Regions from separate parts of the Homo sapiens genome. Here region 2 is linked to region 1. The links are contacts of gene promoters, found by promoter capture Hi-C in blood cells and fetal thymus (Javierre and others, 2016). All regions are on one chromosome and are shown on one strand. The core of a region is centred on a gene start or on the middle of the fragment in contact, and the rest is flanking DNA. Distances in the headings are between cores, read along the strand shown. Region 1 overlaps MLXIPL (MLX interacting protein like). Region 2 holds the start of DNAJC30 (DnaJ heat shock protein family (Hsp40) member C30).

Region 1 (2,943 bases), core at 81-2,580:
CGGTGGGGTCGGAACTGCCCAGACTAAGAGGCCTCAGGAGCTGGCACGGATCACAGGCTGGTCAGGGTCAGAGAAAGGTGCCCGGAAGGGAGCGGGTGGGCGGGCGGCGCCCAGGCCCGGGATGTGGTCAGGCCGTGGCCAGCTGCTTCCCAAAACCAGAATAGCCCAGGACTTACACAACCCGCACCCCAAACAATCCGCTACTGCCTCCCCCAGCTCTCGCAGGCTTCCCAGACCCCTTGCCCCACCCCACTCAGAGCCCACCCTTAGGCCCCTCTCGCCCCCACCCCACTCAGAGCCCACCCTTAGGGCCCCTCTCGCCCCCACCCCTTTCGGAGCCCAGCCTTAGGCCCCTCTCGCCCCCACCCCACTCGGAGCCCACCCTTAGGCCCCCTCTCATCCCCACCCTACTTGGAGCCCACCCTTAGCCCCTCTTGCCCCCACCCCACTTGGAGCCCAGTCTTAGGTCCCCCTTCACCCCCCCCCCACTTGGAGCCCACCCGTATCCCCCTCTTGCCCACACCCCACTCAGAACCCACCCTTAGGCCCCTCTCGCCCCCACCCCACTCAGAGCCCACCCTTAGCCCCTCTTGCCCACACCCCACTTGGAGCCCAGCCTTAGGCACCCCCCTCACCCCCATCCCACTCAGAGCCCACCCATATCTCCCTCTTGCCCACACACCACTCAGAGCCCACCCTTAGGCCCCTCTCGCCCCCACCCCACTCGGAGCCCAGCCTTAGGCCCCTCTCGCCCCATTACACTCTTCACCCCACTCCTAGGCTCCACCTGTTGACCTTCCAACAAACCAAGCTTGTCCCGGACCCAGTGACCTCACGTTCCCCCTCATCTCCAACTCACCCTCTTGAACTTCTGCCACCCTGGGGCCCCTCCCATGCCAGGCCTCCTCCCCTAGCACCGTACCCCTTTTCCACCCTGGCACTCGCTCTGGGCACCCCCTTTCTGCACCTCCAGCAGATCAGGGAAGGGGAGCCACCAGGGGGTGGGGAGGGGGACTTCCTGAGCTAAGCCTGGGGCTGGGGAGGGGAGGGGGCTCCTTCCTGGGGTCCCTGTTCACATCCACAGTCCCCTGCTCTCTCCCACGCAAGCTCATTCCACCCAAGACGGTTGCTGCTTCCCCTAATCGAGACAGAAACCCTCCCAGTTTCACAATCTTCTGTGGAAGGGACCCCCACCCTCTGCCCGCCAGTCCCCATGTCCCCACCCGCCAAGGCTGGGGACAGGCCACTCTCCTCTCAGCTGTTTCCCAGCCATAGCCCTGGCCCTAACTGCTGTTGCCCTGTGTGTCTGAATTACAGATTTCTTTACCAACTCCCGCCTCCCACAGCCGCCCATGCCTTCAAACTTCCCAGAGCCCCCCAGCTTCAGCCCCGTGGTTGACTCCCTCTTCAGCAGTGGGACCCTGGGCCCAGAGGTGCCCCCGGCTTCCTCGGCCATGACCCACCTCTCTGGACACAGCCGTCTGCAGGTGAGCTCACCCCACCCCGTCCAGCCCTGTGTAGCTCACTTGAGAGCTGTTCCTGCCCTGTTCATGTCCAGGAGGTATCAGACACTCCCTGAGTGCCCAGTCTTCTGCTTGGAGATTGGAGGGAAAGAAAGACCCCATCTCTGCCCTCTGGGAGGGACCCCGTGAAGCAGAACTGGACAAAACGGTTGTGGGAGAAAGCTAAGGGCATGGAGACCATGGAATGGGCTCCACCAAGGGCCAGTTGCTTGTGGAAGGCTTCCTGGAGAAGGGGAGTTTCTGGGCCTTAGAGAATAGGTCAGCTTTGGACAGAAGGGACTGGCTGACCTCAAGCCAGATGGGAGAACAGCAGGAACAAAAGCTTCGAGGCAGAAAGCTGAGCGTGGATGTTTAGGAAACAGTGAATCTACCATTTTGGTTCATCAATTCCCCATATGCAATTCTTTTTTTTTTTTTTCTTTGAGACAGAGTCTCACTCTGTCGCCTAGGCTCGAGTGCAGTGGCATGATCTCGGCTCACTGTAACCTCCGCCTCCCGTGTTCAAGCGATTTCCGGCTTATTTTTGTATTTTTAGTAGAGACAGGGTTTCACCATGTTGCCCAGGCTGGTCTCAAACTCCTGACCTCAGTAGTCCGCCCGCCTCGGCCTCCCAAGGTGGTGGGATTACAGGTGTGAGCCACCACACCTGGCCCCCAGGTGCAGTTCAGAAGTTGCTTCCTGCTGCTTGGTTATAGGCCTTTTCCCTCCATCATCAGACTTTTCAGGTGCTAATTCTAATCGGTTGCTGAGGGGTGTCTCTCCTCCATCAGACAGTGAGCTCCTTACTGAAAGGGTTATGTTTTGCTCACCACTGCATTCTCTATACCTAATACAGCTCAGGCACATAACAGCACTCAGTGAATGGTTGTCCAATGAGTGAGTCAGTGACTGAATGAATGAGCAAGTGTGCAGATGAATGGGCGTGCTGGTGAATGGATAGATGCATCTTAGACTGCGGTGGAGGCACACGTGGGTTGGTGGATATATGGGTAGGTGAGTGGTTGGGTGGATGGGTGGGCTGGTGGATGGATACATAGATGAATAGTTTAATGGATTAGTGAATGGGTTCATTGGTGGTTAAGTGGCTGGAAATGTATAGATGGTGGATGGATGGAAGGATTATGGATGGGTTGGTGGATGAATGATGGAAGTATAGATGGTTGGATGGATTAGTTAATATGTTAATATCTGGTAGGCTGGTGGAGAGAGTGGTAGATGAGCTGGTTCATAGATTGATAAATAGGTAGGTGAATGGATGGAAGACGGATGGATGGAGAGATTGGTGGATGAAGTAGTAGATGGACAATTGATGAATGGATGGGTGGGTTGGTTAGTGGATGGATTGGTGAAGTTAGTGGATGGATGATGAAGGAATGGTAGGTTGGTTGGTGGATGGATCAGTGGACAAGTTAGTGGATGG
Region 2 (3,035 bases), core at 229-2,728, 84 kb before region 1:
TTTTTTTGAAACAAAGTCTTGCTCTGTCGCCCAGGCTGGAGTGCAGTGCCGTGATGTCGGCTCACTGCAACCTCCCCCTCCCGGGTTCAAGCTATTCTCCTGCCTCAGCCTCCCGAGTAGCTGGGGTTACAGAAACCCGCCATCGCGCCCGGCTAATTTTTTCCATTTTTAGTAGAGCTGGAGTTTCGCCATGTTGGCCAGGCTGGTCTCGAACTCCTGACCTCAGGTGATCCGTCTGCCTCAGCCTCCCAAAGTGTTGCGATTACAGGCGTGAGACACCGCGCCAGCTTCCCCCCGCCCCCATCCCCCCCCCTTTTTTTTTTTTTTAACGACTCGAGGTGCGCTGGCTCACGCCTGCAATCCCAACAGTTCGGGAGACGAAGGCGGGAGGATCGCTTGAGCCCTGGGCTTGGGCCACCTTGGGCAACACAGCGAGACCCCATCGCAACAAAAATTTACAAAAAAAAGCCAGGCGTAGTGGCGCGCGCCTGTGGTCCCAACTACTGGAGAGGCAGAGGGGAGCCACCACACCCGGCTAATTTTTTTATTACTTGCGGAGACGGGGGCTCGCTACGTTGCCCAGGCTGGTCTCGAACCCCTGAGCTCAAGCGATCCTCCCGCCTCAGCCTCCCAAAGTGCTGCGATTGCTGAGATTACACGCGTGAGCCACTCCCACCTGGCTACAACTCAGTAGTTATACAAACTACCCTCTATGAAATTCAGACAATAATACACCAACTGCTGTCTTGGAGATTTATTGGCAACAAGGCGCCACGATAAGCATCCTACGGCCATTACTTCCTTCCCCCCACCAGGACTGACCCCTCGCCCGTACCCACCGCCCAGCGCCTCTTTTACCACATGTTTAGGACAAATTGTCACATTCGACTTTGAAAACCACCCACGGAAAGCAAGCGCGATCACCCCTACCTCAACGCTGAGGTACCGAGGCCCAGAGAGGTCGGCAACTTAAAGTTGATTTACCAGAGACAGAAATCGGCACCCACCCGGGTCCTTCCCTTCCCGCACCCCCAAATTCTACGGCCTTTCCGGGCAACGCCAGCAACAGGGGCAACTTGCCGCTTCCCGACCCCCGGACGCCCCGCAGTATTCAGGCTCCCCTCACTTGCGAACGTATTTCCGGGCTTCTGTCTCGTCATAAAACTGCGAAAAAGAGAAAATGGCATGTAGAGGAATAATTCAGACGCGGTGGCCGCAGAAGTGGGGAGAGGGGTGTCCGCGGGCCCCGGGACTTACCAGCTCTGGGGGTCCGCCATGCTCCGGACGCCGGCCGCGGGACGCCATTCTCACGCCTCAGCAGCACACCTGCGACTGGCGCCTGCCGGCACCCGGTTTTTATGTCATCAGCCCGGCGACCGCTTAGTAATACGCATGTTCCACCCCCACGACCGCCCCGCCCCCCCCTTTACGTGACTGGCCACAGGGCGACCAACCGACTCCTCTCATTGGCCGGTTTCTCTTGCACCGCCTGCCGAATCAATTCAACATGGCAGCCATGCGCTGGCGATGGTGGCAGCGGCTGTTACCTTGGAGGTTGCTGCAGGCCCGTGGCTTTCCACAAAATTCTGCACCCAGCCTGGGCCTAGGAGCGAGGACTTATTCCCAGGGCGACTGCTCGTATTCGCGCACGGCGCTGTATGATCTGCTCGGCGTCCCCTCCACAGCCACGCAGGCCCAAATCAAGGCGGCTTACTACCGTCAGTGCTTTCTCTACCACCCGGACCGCAACTCCGGGAGCGCGGAGGCCGCCGAGCGCTTCACGCGCATCTCCCAGGCCTACGTGGTGCTGGGCAGTGCCACCCTCCGTCGCAAGTATGATCGCGGCCTACTCAGCGACGAGGACCTGCGCGGACCTGGCGTCCGGCCCTCCAGGACGCCCGCACCCGACCCCGGCTCGCCGCGTACCCCGCCGCCCACCTCTCGGACCCACGACGGTTCTCGGGCCTCCCCCGGCGCCAACCGCACGATGTTCAACTTTGACGCCTTCTACCAGGCCCACTACGGGGAACAACTGGAGCGGGAACGGCGCCTGAGGGCCCGGCGGGAGGCCCTTCGCAAACGGCAGGAGTATCGGTCCATGAAAGGCCTCCGCTGGGAGGATACCCGAGACACGGCTGCCATTTTCCTCATCTTTTCAATCTTCATCATCATCGGCTTTTATATTTAATCGGAGAGAGAAGGGAAGGGGAGTGTCCCCAGCCAACCCCCCAGAAACGGCCTTTTTTCCTGCCTCTGAACCCTTGGCCATTGATAGTCTACCTTTGCTGGGATCCGAAGGAACTGTACTCCCCCTGCCCTCCCCGACCCGCCCAGCTTAGCCGATGACCTGCACATCGCTCCACTGTGGTCCAGAAAAGGAGGCCTTTCGATGTCTGAGAAAGAGGCCCCACGCTGTAGAGTCCCGAAAGCCCAGGAGTGAAGGGGGTTCCTGGAGTCTCTAGGGTGCTTCTTCCAGAGTCTGTCTTCTTGCTTCCAGATGTGGTCAACTTCTGGAACACTCGCTGTAGCTTTATTGTTTAGCCCCAAGCAAGATTTATCTCCTCCTGCCCCGCATGTGTATGGTGGGCCTCTGTAACCTTGAAATGTGCAATGTGACCAATTGTTGACTACCAAAAGAAAAGGTCTGGGGTTGTACGAAACTTGTCTTTCTGTGACTTCCCCAAGCCGCAGGTGAGACCTGGTCCAGGGTAAGAATGGGATCGGTGGAGAGCCTGTCGTTCCTCCCGCTAAGGTCAGCCCCCTGGGGCACTCCTCCTTATGTTGATAGCATGTAGGAGTGAGAAAAAGTCATTGAGCATAAGGAATGAGTGTTCCTGTGCCCATATTTAATGTGTGACCTTGGAGAAGTTACTCTGTAGGCATGACAGCAGAGGAGAAAATCATTTGGCATCTTGAGGTCTGTCATGCTTTATTATCCATAGTTTTTGGGGGGTTTTTTGTTTTGTTTTGTTTTTGAGATGGAGTCTTGCGCTCTGTTGCCCAGGCTGGAGTGCAGTGGTGCGATCTTAGCTCAC

The links. Contacts are between HindIII fragments. The CHiCAGO score rates a contact against its expected background, and 5 or more counts as called.
Region 2: a contact is called between the fragment with the promoter of DNAJC30 here and a fragment that was not itself captured in region 1, in 17 of 17 cell types (erythroblasts, naive CD8 T cells, endothelial precursors and 14 more). The highest score is 14.8, in erythroblasts.

The regions. Positions count from the first base shown.
Region 1 is chr7:73,598,070-73,601,012 of GRCh38, reverse strand. MLXIPL (MLX interacting protein like) reads left to right here. Exons shown (of 17, transcript NM_032951.3): 8 at 1,318-1,487. Among named protein-coding and RNA genes, the nearest start is that of TBL2, 21 kb to the right of the region's middle. The HindIII fragment of the contact is 1,034 bases long and covers 814-1,847 here.
Region 2 is chr7:73,681,896-73,684,930 of GRCh38, reverse strand. It overlaps DNAJC30 (DnaJ heat shock protein family (Hsp40) member C30), which reads left to right and starts at 1,478. Exons shown (of 1, transcript NM_032317.3): 1 at 1,478-3,035. The coding sequence starts at 1,508. The coding sequence ends at 2,188. BUD23 (BUD23 rRNA methyltransferase and ribosome maturation factor) reads right to left here and starts at 1,334. Exons shown (of 12, transcript NM_017528.5): 1 at 1,258-1,334; 2 at 1,127-1,164. The coding sequence starts at 1,305. RefSeq lists enhancers at 1-626, 1,557-1,726, 1,967-2,056. The HindIII fragment of the contact is 21,940 bases long and covers 1-3,035 here.